4 separate regions of the Homo sapiens genome follow, and regions 2, 3 and 4 are each linked to region 1. The links are contacts of gene promoters, found by promoter capture Hi-C in blood cells and fetal thymus (Javierre and others, 2016). All regions are on one chromosome and are shown on one strand. The core of a region is centred on a gene start or on the middle of the fragment in contact, and the rest is flanking DNA. Distances in the headings are between cores, read along the strand shown.

The links. Contacts are between HindIII fragments. The CHiCAGO score rates a contact against its expected background, and 5 or more counts as called.
Region 2: a fragment that was not itself captured here is called in contact with the fragment with the promoter of FAM174A in region 1 in 2 of 17 cell types (non-activated CD4 T cells and total CD8 T cells); the score reaches 6.8 in non-activated CD4 T cells.
Region 3: a contact is called between a fragment that was not itself captured here and the fragment with the promoter of FAM174A in region 1, in 3 of 17 cell types (naive CD4 T cells, non-activated CD4 T cells and total CD4 T cells). The highest score is 6.6, in naive CD4 T cells.
Region 4: a contact is called between a fragment that was not itself captured here and the fragment with the promoter of FAM174A in region 1, in 2 of 17 cell types (non-activated CD4 T cells and total CD8 T cells). The highest score is 8.3, in non-activated CD4 T cells.

The regions. Positions count from the first base shown.
Region 1 is chr5:100,532,791-100,537,646 of GRCh38, forward strand. It overlaps FAM174A (family with sequence similarity 174 member A), which reads left to right and starts at 2,584. Exons shown (of 3, transcript NM_198507.3): 1 at 2,584-3,174. The coding sequence starts at 2,741. FAM174A-DT (FAM174A divergent transcript) reads right to left here and starts at 2,453. Exons shown (of 5, transcript NR_172939.1): 1 at 2,371-2,453; 2 at 1,290-1,362. RefSeq lists an enhancer at 2,543-2,842. The HindIII fragment of the contact is 3,135 bases long and covers 2,207-4,856 here.
Region 2 is chr5:103,131,889-103,136,963 of GRCh38, forward strand. PPIP5K2 (diphosphoinositol pentakisphosphate kinase 2) reads left to right here. Exons shown (of 31, transcript NM_001276277.3): 3 at 1,565-1,760; 4 at 4,844-4,934. Among named protein-coding and RNA genes, the nearest start is that of PPIP5K2, 14 kb to the left of the region's middle. The HindIII fragment of the contact is 6,863 bases long and covers 1-5,075 here.
Region 3 is chr5:103,113,705-103,118,527 of GRCh38, forward strand. All of the region lies in intron 1 of GIN1 (gypsy retrotransposon integrase 1), which reads right to left. Among named protein-coding and RNA genes, the nearest start is that of GIN1, 4.0 kb to the right of the region's middle. The HindIII fragment of the contact is 1,334 bases long and covers 1,692-3,025 here.
Region 4 is chr5:103,259,140-103,264,013 of GRCh38, forward strand. All of the region lies in intron 1 of MACIR (macrophage immunometabolism regulator), which reads left to right. Among named protein-coding and RNA genes, the nearest start is that of MACIR, 2.8 kb to the left of the region's middle. RefSeq lists a silencer at 5-384. The HindIII fragment of the contact is 1,254 bases long and covers 1,615-2,868 here.

The DNA.
Region 1 (4,856 bases), core at 1,334-3,833:
TCTAATGTTTCTCAAAATGCAGCTCTCAATTACCCAAAACAGAATAAGAAAGGGAATTTGTTAAAATTGGAGATTCTAGATCACTATTTTAGAAATTCTGGACAGAATTTTTGGAAGTGGAGACATGGACTATATATGCATTTTTAACAAGCTCTCAGAGTGATTTTCATGTACACTGAAATTTAAGAATCTCTTTCCTTTCCCTTACTACCTGCATCCAGATATTGTCATATCCTGTCCATTTCCCTAACTTTTTTCCCATTAATCCAATCCTACAGGCCTCTATAGCCCTAGGACTATATACTAACCTGCTTGGTGCCCAGCACTTTCTACCTTCACTTAAAATGGCTATATTACTGCCAGGATAAACTTTTTAAGTACAGATCTCTCCTGATATAGCAACCAACTAACTAAACAACAACAACAAAAACAAAATCAGATTTTTCAGAGATACTCAATTCTCAACAAAAGTGATCTTAAGCAGGCAACATACCTGGAAGTTACTGTGCTCTTTTTAGAATACCATATTGTTTGTAAAACATCATTATATAATGACATCTTGAAATCTGTCATGGGAATGAACAAAAATTTTCCTAGGAGAAGATACTGTGTTTTGTTTGTGCAATAGAAAGTTACAATTTTGAGCACAAATATCTATGTGAAATACAATCTTTCAAACTAAGTAAAATTAGTTGTTTATGAATTTTTCTCTTAATTTTAATATACTTGTTCATTTACTTGTTATCAATTGGCTTGCAAACAAGTTGTACCAAGCACAGGATATAAAAAAAAAATACATAAATAAGGGGAAAAAATCTCAGAATGAGAAATTTGTATCAGGTTACTGCCACATTATTATATTCTCCTAATTAATACCATGATTTGATTCTAGCTTCTTAATCAACTATTGCTAGAATAATGTGGCATAATCAATAACCATAGAAATATCAGTGGCATACAGCAAATAAGCATTTATTTTTCACTTCTTTGGTCAAGCTGGGGTTGACTAACTTAAGCTAACCTTGGCTGCATTTGGTGCCAGGCTATAGGTTTAGTCATAGTTTACGCCAGATATCCCACAGTCTACTAGGATCAGAGGACTAGCTGGGTCATATTCTTTTCAAGGTTAGGGCCAGAACTTTCTGTGCAGAGAGGGCAGGCAAGTGAAAGGGGGAAAGGAATAATGAGAGAGGTAGGTGTGTGTATGCATGTGTGTGTGTTTCTGGCTCTCTCTCTGTATATATCTACCTGTATCTGTCTCTCTTTTAGCAATGAAAACAATAACTTACTCAAAAGACCCACGTATACCCTTGACAGGCATCTCATTGGTGAGAGGTACATCATGCGGCCACTTCTAGTTATCTGCACAAATTGAAGTTCCATATTACTGAAGTCAAACAGGCAAGGAAGACATTATTGAAGACTACTGCTGTTGGGAAAGGGGATAAAACTCTTCTAATCTCAACTCCTCTAAAAGAAAAAAAGGAGTGGAGAGTTATTAAGAGCTATTTTGGGAAGATCACCGGCCACCTGAGTTTGCTGATTGACTTTACCCAAAGGAAAAGTAAATTTTCTCCTCCATGACAGGAGGTGGTTTTACAACTTGAAGCGAGAAGCCTACAACAGTTAGGTTCCTTTCCTCTCACACAAAATAAGAGATGGCCCACTACCTTCCTTGCTGATTATATTTCAAAGGCATGATGGCTTTCCATACCCTTGAGATAGTTTTCAATTATATAACTGGCCAGAAGCTTTAAAAAATATTTACATCTGAAAAGGGAAGAGAAATAACTTACAATGGTAAAGTTTTCTAAAGTAATTTTTTTTAATATACTTTAAGTTCTAGGGTATATGTGCACAACGTGCAGGTTTGTTACATATGTATACATGTGCCATGTTGCTGTGCTGCACCCATTAACTCGTCATTTACATTAGGTATATCCCCTAATGCTATCCCTCCCCCCTACCCCACGACAGGCCCCGGTGTGTGATGTTCCCCATCCCGTGTCCAAGTGTTCTCATTGTTCAATTCCCACCTATGAGTGAGAACATGCAGTGTTTGGTTTTCTGTCCTTCTAATAGTTTGCTCAGAATGATGGTTTCCAGCTTCATCCATGTGCCTACAAAGGACATGAACTCATTACAAGCAAATGCTCTTTAGAAAGGGAGGTCAGGGACCCATAGGCAGGAAAAAAAGCCTGCTTAAAGCTTGTAATGAAGCTAAGGAAAACTAAGCCCTTCTGGCTTACAGATTAAATGTGTTATTGCAGTTTGACACCAATGAATTCAGATTATGAGTTTCCAATCTCTCAGGGTTCCTGCATGAGAGAGTTGCTGTACATTTTACACAATCTCTTTTTGTCTACTTACTTTCTTAATACGCATCCTTGACCGCTCCTCACTAACAGTGAAAAGAACAATGCTTCCAAAACGGTCACGTCCTCGCTTTTTACACAAGTGCGCGTGCGCACTGGGCGCTAGGCCTCTGACGTCACCAAGTGCATCCGCCCCTACAAGTTAGCAACCGAAGGCGTCCTTAGCAGCAGTGGCCGCTGAGATGTACGAACTTCCGGTTCTCCGGGCAGCTGCCACTGCTGTAGCTTCTGCCACCTGCCACGACCGGGCCTCTCCCTGGCGTTTGGTCACCTCTGCTTCATTCTCCACCGCGCCTATGGTCCCTCTTGGAGCCAGCGTGGCGGGCCTGGCGGCTCCCGGGTGGTGAGAGAGCGGTCCGGGAACGATGAAGGCCTCGCAGTGCTGCTGCTGTCTCAGCCACCTCTTGGCTTCCGTCCTCCTCCTGCTGTTGCTGCCTGAACTAAGCGGGCCCCTGGCAGTCCTGCTGCAGGCAGCCGAGGCCGCGCCAGGTCTTGGGCCTCCTGACCCTAGACCACGGACATTACCGCCGCTGCCACCGGGCCCTACCCCTGCCCAGCAGCCGGGCCGTGGTCTGGCTGAAGCTGCGGGGCCGCGGGGCTCCGAGGGAGGCAATGGCAGCAACCCTGTGGCCGGGCTTGAGACGGACGATCACGGAGGGAAGGCCGGGGAAGGCTCGGTGGGTGGCGGCCTTGCTGTGAGCCCCAACCCTGGCGACAAGCCCATGACCCAGCGGGCCCTGACCGTGTTGATGGTGGTGAGCGGCGCGGTGCTGGTGTACTTCGTGGTCAGGACGGTCAGGTGAGGCAAAGCCTCGGTGGGGCACCCCCGTGGGCCTGAGATACGCAGGCCGGTGATCTCCAGCAAGGCTGACTTCTGTGACCCTTTCCCCCTTCCCCAGCATCAGGGACTCCTGCTTAAGAATATGATATTGACTTTCTTAAAGGCCTGTTACCTTTGGAGCAATTTAAACCTATAACTAATTGCTGCCTTTTGTTTATAAATGAGTGCCCTACCTCCAAATCTCTTCATCTGACCTACAACCCACGTCAGCCTCAAAGGGCACCCTTTCTCTGAAGTGAGGATAATCTTTATTCCCTAGAATTTTGACTACTCTGTCTTGTAATACTTCTACCTTTCTAGTCTAAATTTTTGTATACCTAACTGGTCAAAATTTTGCCAATCAGAATGCAAACTCTTTAAAGACAGGATATCTATTTAGTAGGTTTGTGAGTCTTACAAATTATTTGTACAATGCTGCCACTTAATAGGAAATCAATATATATTTGAGTGGATTAATAGTAATATAGAGGTGCCTTATGGATATTTTATTTTTATAAAATTCAGGAGAAGAAAAGTTCTTCCTTACTATCAGTGTTTCCTAGTATTGCCCTTTAATCTGCCACCTAAGTGGCAGAGAATCACCTTCCTGAAGAGTTGACATACAGAGCCAAGACCTCACCATTAGGAGAAGCCAGCAAAGAGATAAGGTGAGGGAAAGCTGTCTAGCAGTTTATTTCATTATAAAATAAGTGTAGAGGGTAGGTTTGCAGCTTATGTTTGTTTATTGTTTTCAAAATTCACGTTTTTCCCATAAATACCCTCTGTATTGTAATTTAACATATTTCTTTAAACTGATTATTTAAAGCAAAAGTTTCCTTTTAAACAAGTCGTTATTATCATGAATGGAAAACCAACATCACTTGGCTAGTTAAAAAATAGTGTAAGCCAGTGGTTCTTGACATGTGGGCCAGGGAACCACACAGGTGGGAGTTTCACTTAGACCTCTTCAGGGCATCTACAGTATTAAAACTATTTTCAAAATAATACATTCTGTTACAGGCTTATAGGGTACAAGTAGTTCATTGATATTGTTTCAGATTCCACATTGCAACTAATCTTTAAGAAACTGCTTGTCAAGTTTTGGTGTAGTAGTATCATAAAGGAATAACCACTCATATATAAAAAGGCTATTAAAATGTTTCTTTCCATTCCAAGTTTATATCTGTGCGAAGATGGAATTACTTTGTATGCTTCAACCAAACAACACATTGCAAAGGATTTAATGCAGAAGTAAATATAAAAATCTATCCATTTCCTATTTTTTGTTTCTATTTTTTATCTACTCCTATCACCTTAAGCCAGATATTAAAGGGAATTGGAAATAAGAATCTAAATGTCATTCTTTTTACGTTTTTTTCTTTTTTGAAAATATAGTTGTTTTTCATAAAAGTTATGTTAACTTGTAATGTGTTTACTATTATTTTAAATCAGTTGATAAGTATAGGTTTTCTCAAGTTTAATTAATATGGTAAAGTTGATATGTGTAATTCACATAAATATAAGTTATTTTGGGTTCCTGAACAATTTTAAGAATGTAAAGAAATCCAAAACAGCAGGCGTAAGCAATATTTGAGAACCACAGCTGTAAGAAATATTATTTGAGCTAGATATTGTTGGTTCACAAAGGCTAGCAAATCTGC
Region 2 (5,075 bases), core at 1,923-4,422, 2.6 Mb after region 1:
GGTTCCCATTCATCTTAGCCAGTGAGCAGATATTCATTAAATAGATTTATAATAAATAAGACAATATATTAGCATTTAAAAAAATTGTAAAGCAATGTGAAATGTTAGGTTAGAGTACATTTGTTGTCTGGGGAAATCTACTTTAGGAACATTATAATGAACTGTACCAAAACTTTTGATCAGGAAAGCATTGAATAAGGGCATATAAAAGTGGATGTTCAGAGGGATAAATACAGAAGATTCCAGGAGAGTTAGCATTTATAATCTATTTGATTTACCAATCAACTCTAGTACAATTTGAACTCTACATTTCATGAGTTTGAGGAGACAATACAGAAATACTGTTCTAGGCATAAAAAAAGAACAATTTAGGCTGGGCGTGGTAGCTCACGCCTGTAATCCCAGCACTTTGGGAGGCCGAAGCAGACAGATCATGAGGTCAGGAGATCGAGACCATCCTGGCTAACACGATGAAACCCCATCTCTACTAAAAATACGAAAAAAAAAATTAGCTGGGTGTGGTGGTGCATGCCTGTAGTCCCAGCTACTTGGGAGGCTGAGGCAGGAGAATTGCTTGAACCCGGGAGGCGGAGGTTGCAGTGAGCTGAGATTGCGCCACTGCACTCCAGCCTGGGCGACAGAGCGAGACTTTGTCTCAAAAAAAAAAATTAATTAATTAATTCTGATGTTATCCAATTTTATTTTTAGTTATATTAAGAAAAAGCCCAGAAAAGCACTTTCAAGCCTAGATTATAATGTTGTATGAAATATATAAAGTATCATGCAAGAAAGAAAAATTGAAATGAGAACCTCAACACAGCTTTTGTATATTTGATAAAACTCTCAAGCACTTAAATGCAAAGATCACCAAATGAATCTTGAGTAATTTTATAAATCTAGGAGCTACTCATAAATCAGTTTCTATATCCTGCTTTTTAAGTTTTAGGCTGAATTGTGGCCTTTGAGCTGTTACGAGGATGCCAGAGATCAGTAACACCAATGAGTAGGAGTTTTGACTATGAAGACAGGAGGGGCAAAGAGACTTGACACCTCTGTTAGCAGTGTGGCTTTCTTTAAAATTTTCTTCCAAGTTGTCATCAGTGACCAACTAATATTCAAGTGCAAACTACAATAATAGTTTAATACTTATAGCTTTGTAGTCAGGACTATGTCTTACTTTAGGCAAGAGAATTCTTTATCTTTCTACATAGAGTGGATGGGTTTTGACTGTTATTATACTTTACTGGTGTGAGGAGGATAAATAAATGCTAGAGGTAGTTAAAGAGGGGGTACTTTCTTAGTTTGAAATTTCATTGAAAATAGCAACCATATTTATTCTGAAAGTGTTTTTGTTTTTAAATTTGTTTCCAGACTTTTGTAGAAAACTGTTTTTTAAATGTTTATTATAACAATGATATAATTTTTAAAAATTCCTTTGTTTGTTAATGTGTCACTTTTATTTATTAATCACATGCCTTATCTACTTTTGGAAAACAAATGAAGATAGCTGTACTTTGGAGTTCATGTAAAGTTAACCCGATTTTTTGTTTCATTTTTGTTTTAGCCACCAGAAAGGCAGATTGTGGTTGGAATATGTTCCATGGCAAAGAAATCCAAATCCAAACCAATGAAGGAAATTCTTGAACGGATCTCCTTATTTAAATATATCACAGTAGTAGTATTTGAAGAGGAGGTTATTTTGAATGAACCAGTGGAAAACTGGCCTTTATGTGATTGTCTTATTTCTTTCCATTCTAAAGGTATTAAGGGGAGTGGGGGAGAAACTCCTTTATCCTCTCTGTTTATAAAACTAATACATATTAATTGTAGACTATGAGATAAAACAGAAAAATAAACATTAACTCACTTTCATGGACAGGTAATATTAACATTGTGATATATTTCTTTCCAGTGTTTGTCTTCTATGTGTATTATCATTTAATTTAGTGTCATAGTGTATGTGTAATTTTATATTTAACCTTTTTCACTATTATATCAAGAAGTTTTTTTCCCCTACCATGTCATTCTTAGATAATGTGGTTTTTAATGGTGGCATAGTATATCATTGTGTGGATATACCATAACATATTTAAATTTATCCAATATCCTAACATTTGGAAAGTTTCCAGTTTTCACTATTAAAAATAAGGTTGTGTGATCTTTTTCACTGCATATTTTTGTTTGCATCTCTAAGTTTCTTAGGACAAGTTCTTGAATTATTGAATACTTTAAGCCCCTTTCTATGCTTTATAGAACAAGATCTATCATTTTTCATATACATATTCATACTTTATTTTTAAGAACTTAATAATTTGAGATTTTTAGACATTCCTTGCTATATCTTATTAATCAAACTGAAATATCACTTCAGCTTAAGTATTATGTCATTGTAAATTCCACTAATCAAAATTATTGCTGAGGGTACATCTGAAAATTGATAGCCTAAGAATCTGTGAATTAAGTGAATTTCCCACTAAGAACTATTAATTGAAAAGATGTGCTCTCAGTTGTAAATGTATTCATATTTAATCATCACTTGTTACCAAAATATGTTCTCCTGAGCTATGTTAAAGTCTTACTTCAGCAAGAAGAAGATGGAGCATGGTTTTGCTACCATAGCCTAAATTGATGTTCATTATTTCATAGAGAAGTCAAGACACTGATCTTCAAAGACTCAGGCTGCTCATTTTAGAGAACCTTAAAATTTCTTCCTCCTTGAGAGTAAAGCATTCTTCCCTTACCCTCACATGGTTCTTCCTATTAGTGTTATATTTGCCTGTAAAAACTGGGTGTTATAGCTAATGTCATATTCCACATACCATCTCTTGGTAGGGAAAAAGTTTCTCTTTAACAAAAACAAAAGCAGGAAACTGTGTAGGTGTTTTCTATTTGCTGAATTCTGTAAGGAGGCTTCAAATCATAGACATTGAGACATCTTTACAAGCGATGAATTCTGAGAGTCTTTATAAAACTTTCAGGATTTGTAATTTGTGGCTAAGTGGTTCTTGATATAAGGTATCTGTATTTAAATTTTAAAAACTAAGAGGAGTTTAGGAATAAATCTGATTTAACTGGCCACAGCTTTTTGTTTTAATTTCAGCATGTTTTAATACTTTTTCTCTTAACTATTCTGGTAGTACTATAAAATATAGTCTCTTCACAGGTATACTTAGTATTCCATAGTTGAATACTAAAGTTATGTATGCTTGCTGATTTTTATCCTTTTCCATAGATATTTATTAAAATATTGCCTCTTAAGGAATAATAACAGGTAACATTTATTGAGCACTTACTATGCCAGGTACTGTGCTTAGTGCCTTATATCCACACTATTATTAATTCCTCAAAACTCTACTAGGTAAGACTGGTATACTACTCTTTTGTGCTGGTACCAGAGGCTTAGAGACGTTAAATAAATTTGCCCAAGGTCACATAGCTAGTGAGAGATGGAACCAGGATTTGAACGCTGGTTTATGTCTTTAACTGTTACGGTATACAACTGATGATGTGTATTGATGGATAAAATTGGAGACTTTGTGTCAATTTTTTTTTTCCCCCTGGAGGACAGGGTCTTGCTGTGTCAACTAGGCTGGAGTGCAGTGGTATAGTCATAGCTCCCTGTAACCTCAAACTCTTGGGCTCAAGTGATCCTCCCACCTCAGCCTCCTGAAGGATAGAACTACAGGTTGCACCACTACCCTCAGCTGATTCTTTTGAATTTTTTGTAGAGATGGGATCTTGCTATGTTGCCCAGGCTGGTGTTGAATTCCTGGCATCAAGCACTCCTCCCAACTCGGCCTCCCAAAGTACTGGGACAGGCAAGAGCCACTGCACCTGGCATTAGTGCCAATATAGAGAATAAAATACAATCATTAAAATTTTTTAGATTTTGGGGGAGGGGACCTGTTCTTCACTATATCTACTATTTGATTTGTTTTCATTGTAATTAGTACTTTTACCAGTCTACAAGTTTTAGGGACTTAATTTCTAATATTTTAATGTTGACCTAGCAATAGCATGATTCTGCTCATATATTTTGAGCATATATGTCATATATGAATTAAGTTTTGCTTCTGTAGCTTTTTTTTTTTTTTTTTTTTTGAGATGGAGTCTTGCTCTGTTGCCCAGGCTGGAGTACAATGGCACGATCTCCACTCACCGCAACCTCCACCTCCTGGATTTGAGTGATTCTCCTGCTTCAGCCTCCTAAGTATCTGGGATTACAGGTGTGCGCCACCACACCTGGCTAATTTTTTGTAATTTTAGTAGAGATGGGGTTTCACCCTGTTGGCCAGGCTGGTCTCGAACTCCTGACCTCAGGTGATCCACCTGCCTCGGCCTCCCAAAGTGCTGGGATTATAGGCGTGTGCCCCCATGCCTGGCCCACTGTTTTTAAAGGCACATAAGTCTTTGAATATCAGCTAATTTATGTGTGTAGGCATCAAAATATCTAAGTGAAAAGAAGAGATGTTGAATACATTTTTTAAAAATCACCAGGTGATTCTGATACACCCATGTTATTTACATATAGATTTCTCTTTGTGTATGAGGTGAATCTTACCTTATTTCAGGTGACTGACTAGTCAGACCTTCACTCACATGTCAGTGCTCCAAATTTGGTTATATAACCACTGGTTTGTTGTGCCTTAATCAAATTATGAAAAAATAAGATTTAATATATAAGTTAAATCAAGGTTTATGTATATATTCCATACCTTTTATAGAAGGGTGTTATGTGTTAATGAAATGAATCTTTTATGGGAGGTGGCATCAATTCAAGTTAATAAAGTATAGATGCTTATCTTGAGATAATACAGAATATGTTAATAATATGTGTTCTTAGGATTTCCACTGGACAAAGCGGTTGCCTATGCAAAACTCAGGAATCCATTTGTAATCAATGACTTGAATATGCAGTATCTCATACAAGATAGGTGAGTGGTGAAGTTGGCTGAATTAAGGGAAGGAAAAATAACATTAATTTAGTACCTACTGTACACTGACATGGCATCAGGTGTTTTTGCATTATTAATTCATTGTACTTTCAAAATAATACTCAGAAATAGTTATTTATT
Region 3 (4,823 bases), core at 1,109-3,608, 2.6 Mb after region 1:
AGAGATGAGGTTTCACGATGTTGGCCAGGCTGGTCTCGAACTCCTGACCTCAAGTGATCCACCCACCTTAGCCTCCCAAAGTGCTGGGCTTACAGGTGTGAGCCACCGCGCCCAGCCCCAAGGTCCAACCTCTTAATACCATCACCTTGGTGGTTAGGATTTCAACATATGAATTTTGGGAGAATACAACCATTAAGACCATGGCACTAATGATATCTAAATACCTCTGCCAGTATACAAGGCTTTATAAGATATGGTTTTTATCAATCTCTCCATCTTTTTCTCTTGGCATTCTCAATTCAAAACATAACCACAGTTCTTCAACCATCCCATGCAGTGTGCTCACACCTTTTCATTGATATTTTTGCCTGGAATGAACTTTTATTGCTATTTCTCCAGCCCCTCATCATATTTCAAAACTCTGGCTAGGTGTAATTTCCTGCAGAGTGTCTTCTAACCACTCCAACCTGGAATAACTTAAAATTTTAAGAATGAGTTGGAGTTACAAGATTAGATTTCTATTCTATAAAGTGTATTGTGCACCAATATGGAATAGAGATTGGGGTAGAGACAGGAATACCTGTACCAGTCAGCTAGGAAGCTACTGTATAATTAAAGCAAGAAATGAGGAAATTCTGAGCCAAAGCAGTGTCAGTATAAATGGATAGATACATTATATAAGAACTGTAACTGACTAGATGTGTGGAGTAAACACAAAGAAGAATCTGGGATCACTTCTGTCTGAAGCTCTGGCTTAGGGAGAAAGATGACAATATTAAGCAGGTTCTATTCTTCATGGATGAACTCGGCATGTAAAAAGTAGGTGAAGTTAAGGCAATGGAAGAAGGATCAGATGGAAAGTGTACACAGTAGGAAGTGCAGTGAACATATCCTTATCTTTCAACGTTCACATTAATGAGTTCATTCATCCATGAATCCTTTCTGACCACATCCCCAATCTCAGGGAGAATTGTGCACACCCTCATTGGTACATTCACAGTAATATGTGTCAACCTTTATCATAAAATCTGAAACACTCTATTGAATATATTAGTTTATATGTCTCTCTCCCAAATATATTGTAAATCTTTAGGGACATGAGACTAGCCAGAGAAACAGGAAAAAAGCCAGAAGAGGTTCTGGTAATAGAAGTCTGGGAAATACAGACTTCTTAGAAGTACACAGAGAGGCTAAGTGATATAAGAACCATAATGTAGCTAGTGGTTTTGGCAACAGTATACAGTATAGTTACAGTATAGCAGGGCAGTTGGCAACCAGACTGAAATGACACAAGGAATGAATGGAAATTCAGAAAGTGGATTTAGAAACTTGGGCTTAGCTATAAAGGCAAGGAGCTACAAGATAGTTGCTAGAGACAGATATAAGGTTCATTCATTGATCTAAAAAATGTGACTGAGTAACTGCTATGTGCCAGTTACAACGTTGGAGACAGGATAATAAACAAGATGTAGATTCTCTTGACCTTCATTGAGTTTACATTCTAGTGGGGTTAAAAGTTTTGACAGTCATGTTCATAGCCACATCACCCACAACAGCCAAATGATGGAAGCAACTCAAGTGTCCATCAATGGCTGAATGGATAAACAAAATACGGTGTATATATTCACACACCTTTAAAGGGAAGGAGATTCTAACACACGTTACCACATGGATGAATCTTGAGGACATTAAGCTTAGTGAAATGAACCTGTCACAAAAAGATAAATACTGTAAGATTCCACCTATATGAGGTAGTCAGAGTAGTCAAATACATACAGACAGAAAGAATAATGATGGTTGCATAGAACAGGGGGTGAGGAGGAGAGAATGTAAGAGTTATTATTTAACTGGTCAAGAGTTTCAGTTACACAAAATGAAAAGAGTTCTTGGGATGGATGGTGGTAATAGTTGTAAAACAAATGTGAATGTACTTAAAGCCACTGAACTGCACACTTAAAAATGGTTAAGATGGTAAATTTCATGTTATGTGTGATTTACTACAATTAAAACAATTTTTTTTTTGAACAAGATTGTTTTGCTTTCGACAAGGGAGTAACCCAAAAAGTTTAATGCTAATGGAAGGGCTTCTAGAAAGACCACTGAAAACAAAGGAGAAAAAACTTATGGTATGATGTCCTGAGATGGCAGCAGGGGATGACATCCAATTCACAAATAGAGGGATTCGTCCTGTGATCTCTTCCAATAAAGATATTATAGTGAATATAACCATGGAAGAAAATTATTTCTTTCTGAAATGCCACTAAACATTCCCATATAGGCTTCTGACTAGAATGCAGAAAGCTGGAGTAACTCCCACTCTACCTCTGAGAAAAAGTGGGACAAAATGCCAATTTTCTCCAAATTGATCTATAGATTCAATGCAGTCCCAATCAGGAACCCTCAAGCTCTTTTGCAGAAACTGACAGGCTGATTCTAAAATTGATATGGAAAGCTAAAGGACTCAGAATAATTACAACAACTTTGAGAAATGAATATAGTTGAAGAATTTCACATTATTTGGTTTCAGGACTTTCTATACTACTATGGTAATCAAGACTGTGTTATAATGGCAAAATGACAGCCTTAAATCTATCGAACAGAATAGTGACAGAAATAGCCACTCAGTTATAGTAAACTGATTTTCAACAAAGGTGCCAAGGTAATTCAATGAAGAAAGGATAATCTTTTCAACAAATGCTGTAACAATTAAACATCCTTTGAAAAAAGATGAACCTCAACTCATACCTCAAATGATATGTAAAAATTAATTCATGATGGCTCACAGATCTAAATGTACAACTTAAAACTATACAACTTCTCGAAGACAACAACAAAAATCTTTGTGAGCTCAGGTTGGGTAATGGCTTCCCAGACAGCAAAGAAAAAGCAGCTATGCATAAAGAAAAAATTAAAATTTTTATTCCTTAAAGAACTGCTAAAAAAAGAGAAATAACACTGGGATAAAATATCTGCAATACATACATATGATAAATAACTTTTTCTAGAATTTATAAAGAACTCTCGAAGCTTAACAAGAAAGCAAACAACCCAATTTAAAACCTGGAAATACACTTCACTAAAGAGATATGATTAGCAAATAAACACATGAAAAAATGCTCAACATCAATAGATAATAAAAAATGTAAACTAAAACTACCATAAGATATGACTACACACTAACAACAACAAAAATAAAACAAAACCTAACAATGCTAGGTACTACCAAGGATGCTCTTACTGGTGATAATAGAAAATGATGTAAACATGTTGGAAAACAGTTTGGCAATTTCTTATAAAGTTAAACATCAATTTACCATATGGTCCAGCAATACCAATCTTAGATACTAACCCAAAAGAAAATATGTACACCTAAAAACCTGTAAGTGTATGTTTTTAGAAGTTTTATTCATATCAGCCAAAACCTGAAAACAAATGTTCATCAACTGGTGAATGGATAAACAAATTACAGTAGATCCACATACTGGAATACTATTAAGGATTGATAAGGAACAAACTATAAATAGACCTAACAATATGAATAAATCTCAAAATCATTATGCTAAGTGAAATAAGCCAGACACAAATGGCTATATATTTTATATTTCTGTTTATATGACATCTGGAAAAGCCAAAAGTATAGGAAGAGGAAATAATTTTAAAAAATTAAAAATTTTAAAAACAATGCCAACGCAATTGCACTGCATAAGAATGTTTTGGTCAAGGATGGACTGCCTATTGGTCCCGTAAGATGATAGCAGAGCATATATAGAACCTGATATAGGTCATTTGATATTAGCACTGCAGATCAAGTAGGAGAAATAAATGATACCCAATAATGTGCAGGGACATTTGGTTCTCTATATGAAGAAAAAAATATACACACACACACACACACATATCATCTAGGTTCATGTAGGTAGAGTCTGTATTCGTGCAATGCTGAAACTGCCTAACAAAGCATTTCTCAGAATTTATTCCATTGCTAAGTGACTCACGACTACAGCTGCAAATAGTTATGCAGTATTTTACTATGATAATCCTCACAGTACTTCATGAAGTAGGTATTAGTTTTATATCCATTTTACAGGTAGGAAAATGGAGGTTCAGAGATTGTCCAATTTACTCAAGGTAATAAAGTGAGTACATGCGCTGACACTTTTAACTTGGTGTCTCTTACTTCAAATTTCACGCTTTTCCCCCCTGCTATACCAGTAAGTCAATTACTTGTTATCCTTAGCTTTTATAATACTTGGTTCAGGCCTCTGTTACACAAATTATAAAGTGATTTTTGTAATCAATAATTTAGATTATAAATGAGGAATGGAAAGAGTTTATTAATTTTTTATGTTTACATTGTTTAACATAATGTTCAGAACACAGTGGACACTCAACTATTTGTGAATGAATAAAGAATTACCTGCATTTCCTGAAAGGAGAATTAAAAATTATAGCAAATATTCCAGAGGTAAATTATTTCACTTTTGAAAACATTACAGTTCACTTTCACATACATGGCACTATAAGTAAACTGTGTCTAAGAAGGTATAGACTTAAGCCTTAGTATCTATGTTTGGAAAAGGACATAATATCTATCCCTTTTTTGCAATTACGAGGATGATTAAAAGTCCTTTGTATATGGTAATGTATAATTATTATCATATCTAAGTATTATCATCCATATCAGGCTGTTTAAAGTAACATAAAACCCTTTCTTTTCCCAAAATCTTCACCTACATGAAAAAATATTTTAAAATCTCTTTCCTTTCATTAATGGTGTTAATGTTTTATAGCAATGTTTATAAAGCTTCAGTGCTAAGAAGAAA
Region 4 (4,874 bases), core at 992-3,491, 2.7 Mb after region 1:
GGCCTTGGTGGACCGGTTCCCAGGCACCCGAAGGGGACTGGGGTCTGGTAAACTGGGTGGGGCCCGCGCGGGGTGCGGGGAGCTTGCGGTTCCCTGGCACAGGGGTGGGGCCGCAGACGCCGTGAGTGTGCAGCGCGTGTGAGTGTGCGGGGGCGTGCGCCCCCGTGTGCGCGCGTCGTGCGCTCGCTGGGGAGGTGCGGGGACTCGGCGACCCGGAGCGCCTCTCCCGCGGTGCCGCGGTGCGGAAGTCGGGGCGCGTTGGCGCGCACGCTCGCTCGCTCCCTCCCTTGGCCGCTGTTCCCGCACCGCGGGGCAGCGGGCCTGGAGGCCCCTTTGAGAAGTAGCTTTCCCCGGCCGGCGGCACCTTTGGCTGCGTGCCCGGCCGCGCTCAGGGTGCGACTGCCCGGGTCAGATAGCACCTCAGGGCGAGCCCCGGCGGTCTGATCTCGCCGACCCTCCTCGTCCTGGTTGCAACCCGCGTGCGAGGCCGCCCGCGCCCTCCGAGTGTCTGCCGGTGCAGTGGGGGTGGACTGGCCGGCTGTGGCCGTGTGTGCGCGTGTGGATTGGGGCCCGGTCCGAGCCAGAAGCTTAAGCGGCAGATGTCGGGCATTGCCACCCTCGCCCCACCTGTCGCGGGTGGACTTTGGGGCAGGTGGGAAGCGGAGGAGAGGGGTTTCGAGGCGGGTGGCAGTCAGACCTCCAGCAACGCGGCCCCATTGTGAAGCTGCCAAACTCTCTCTAGTGGTGGAATCTGCAGGTCTCCGCCAGAAAGGAGATGGGAACGCGAAGGGAATGATGGCCCCGTCCTTTTCCCCTTGCTAGTGTTCCACACGCTTAGGGACTCCCTGCCTCTCCTTCCACCTCAGTTTTCAACCCAGTGGGTTACTGATTTGGGTGGAACCAAGATTTCCGTGTGTGTGTGTGTGTGTGTGTGTGTTTGTGTGTGTGTGGTGCACAGGTAAAGCTGGAGCTGGGAACTTTTTATTTGAGCAGGAAGAATGGAGGCATTTTACAGTGTGCTTGCCGCTCCTAGCTGAAAGAACAATTCTTGCATATTTCTGATGTTACTAGACTCATTTTCCTTTTTTTTTTTTTTCCGAAGAGCCAACCTACAATTTAGGGTTGTTAGTTGTTTTATTTTCTCAAATCCTGTAATGCTGGATTGACACTATAGAGGTAGAAATGACCCTTTTGCAAAGTTTATTTTCCCAGTCATTTCAAAATATAGTATTGGTTATTACGGCAGAAGCTTTTGGCCGCGATTTATGATTACACTATTAAGTTTAATGAATGTGTCACAGAATCCTCAGTGTTTTAATTATGTAACTGTGAATGCATTATAAACTGAAAAGTAAAATGAACAGGATGGAATATAAGAGTTAATGAATACAGAGACCTGTTAATTTGATAATAATTGATGTATAGAATATGCTTTTGCTAACAGTTTATTTAATTGCAAATGAAAGTGTTAGTAATTATTTCAGTGTATAAGATATATTTATTGATATTATATAACAGTCAATGAATTTGCTTATTTTCTTTGTATATTTCTGTGTATTTTAGAGAGCTATTATAAAATTAACTCAAAAGTACTTAATATGGTTAGAGTAATAAAGCTTTATGTACAGGGTTTAAAATTTCTTTGCTGATTTGTAGCTGGGGGTGAGGTGGGGGATCAGCTCCTTTCCTCCAGAGAGAACTTTGATTTTGTCACCAGCCTATCAAAATGAGTACCTGGTTTTAAGCCTTCCCAAAGATTAGCCAATTCCACAGTGTACACCTGTTCCATTTTGATGATACTTCCTAAGAGACAAATTTCTTGTAAAGGCTGCATGTTGACCTTTAGTTCCACTTACTGTCGGTCATATTTGCAGTGAAACTGAGTATTTTTCTAAAAGTAGAAGGATGACACCACGTGATAAGAAGATATTAGTAACCTAGGTTTAATTTTTACTAGCAGAAATGGAAAGATAATGAGTGCTGCACTTTAAGGGGGTGGATTGCTATTAAAAGAACTGATACTAGAAAGAGAAACACATTTTTGTCTTACTGAACGAATTATGGGTTATCTTACAAAGTTGGCAAGGTTAATGGTTTGTTTGTAAGGTCAAGGATGGTTTCAGAAAAGTCACACCCTAGTTAACTCTTCTTAAAGAGTATTGATGACTTACTTTTTGCAAGTTGCAAATGGTAAAGTAAGAATATTTGAAAGAAGCCTCTAAGATGAGCATCTAGGTGCAGCTAAACATTTTGTTTTCATTGTTGTGTTGTACTTTGACAGTTAAGCCATTTTATTTCTGCTTAGTGTTCAGTTAGTATTCCTCCAGAGATGTTTTGGTTCATCTTTTACTTGTTTTTAGTGGTCTTTGAGATTAGTGGTTACAAAATATTTTCACTATTTTGAAAGAATTTTTAAAAATTGATGTTTTTTTTCCAAGTGCTTTTCCATTAGTGGTCTCTTCTTAAATAGCCACTCTGAAAATACTACCTGTTTTTCTTTTTCTTTCTTTCTTTCTTTCTTTCTTTCTTTCTTTCTTTCTTTCTTTCTTTCTTTCTTTCTTTCTTCCTTTCTTTCTTTCTTTCTTTCTTTTCTTTCTTGAAAATGTTTTGGTGGGCTTCAGGTTAGGGCCATGAAAAAAATGAAAATAAATGTTTTGATAGCTAGAATTAGAACTCACAGCTTCTACTGTACCAATTTCTCTGCCTAAAATTTGTCCTTTCATAATATAAACTTTAATGATGAATGTGATTTTTATTTACCAATATTTGAAAGGGCTATGTGCTGGTCCTCATATTTATAGTCTTATGATTTGTGATCAATGTTGTTAAATTTTTTCTTACTGCTGTTTTGTTAGTGATCTGTGCTGAAGCTTGAGATTCACGACTTTTTTGTGTGTTTACGAATTTTGTATGGACATAAACATTTCCAAATGGAGCTTTGTATATTTTTGGGAAAGGCACTCCCTTTTTTGGGTTCCTAGTGCCATTCAGGTTTACTGTTATTAGAAGGATTTATTTCCATGTCTGCCCTCCCCTCTGACCCAGTCTCAGGCCATCTCTTTATATGTGCACCAGTGCCTGCATAGTGTGGGGATATATAATAAGACTTAAGAAACATTGTTGAATGACTGAATAAGTGAATATCTAAGTGGGTACACCCGAAGAAAGAACTCAGACCTGTATGGGAATTCACCGTTCAAGCAGAAGGGTGTTTCCCTTTTTAAAAAAGTCATTGCCTTTCCATGTTGCTTTTGAGTAGGATAACAAATGAAACAGCCAAACTGAGACACTTTTGAGAGTTAAAGGGGGTTGCTTTCAATAATTATGCCAGGGTATTGACTATGAATTGAGATATATAGTCACTCTTCTTTTGAAAGGCATTCTTATTTACCTGTGATAATAACTATCACCTGAGAAATTCGATACATTTGGTAGTTAATGTTTGCAAACTTTTCTATTTGTAGAAGCTCCACTTGCAGTGAAATGTTGGGTGTCTTTTGCTTAGTCACCCATGACTTTCTTATCCAGAAGTCTGTGGGCAGCTCTTGGCCACTGCTTGGTTTTTTCCTATTTTTATTGCTTATGGGATAATGTCCCACTGCATTCTGTTTCAGCTTCTTATAACTGGAAGCATTTATTATATCTTGTAGCCTTTGCTCTATTTACTTCAGTCTTTGTTTTTATGCAGCATTTAGTCTATCTTCTAAGAATTTCACATGGATTCCTTTTCCTCTTGCTGACTGTTTTGGAGAGGAAATCTGTTGATATCTTTCCAAGCCTTCAGTGTTTAGAACATTGGCCAAAATCAGTTGCAAGCGTTAGAGAATTATAGATTTTTAAAGTATTCTAAAAATGTGTGTTATTTGAAAGGTACATGTTTTGGGAATTTTTATATTACAATCTTTTAATTGTTATAAGTGGGAGATGGGGGTAGAACCCTTACTGTAATTTTGTAGTAGATTTCTTTATGGGTTATGTCTTAAAGAAAACGTATAATCTTATACTAGTTAGTTTCTGGTCTTGTTCTTTTTATTTATTTTTCCCTCTTTTTCACCATATACCTCCTCCTCCTCCTCCTCCTCCTCCTGCTCTTCCTCCTCCTCCTCCTGCTCTTCCTCCTCCTCCCACAAAGCAGGAAGCAGAGTCAAAATTAGAAAAAGTGAGAATGTAATGGAGCTTCTGCACCTTGGTTTTCTTGTGTTGCTCCCTTGGACATTGTGTTTATATTCTATTTTTGGCTTGGCACTGGCATAATAGGAATAATCAGTTACTACTCTTTGTTTACTATGAAATTACCGATCATTTCCTAGATTTACACATCAGCTCCAGTGCAAGAGTTGGGTAATGTCTTCAAGGCTCCTCTGCTTTCAAATCCAGACTAAAGTTTTAGTTGATTTCTTTCTTTTGATGTTGAAAAAGAAACTCTTTGAAAGTGTAAATATTTTTCTAATGCATTTAAAAGCTTAAAAAGAAGAATATGTCACCAAATACATGAGGCAAATTATATGAAAGTTTGAATGAGATTTAAGACTGTCAAAACTATTCTTTAGGATTAAGACATTCAGATATTTCTAATGTTCCTCCTGCTTGTTTTAAATTGACATTTATAAAAGTATAAATGAAATCTATCCCACTTTGTGATAGATGTAGTCTTGAGAAATAAAGCGGAAATATATAACTGTATTTGATATCCAACCATATAACCAGACGGTATTGGTTGATACCTTTTTTTCTGTCGCATAATTTATGATTTTAGAAAATAGAAGCTCATAGGAGAAAGAGTCCATGATTCAGAAGGATTTTGTATAAGACTTTCCACGATGTGCCACCAAATCTTAATATTTTTCAAGTTGGAAATAACCATGCAGCTAAGT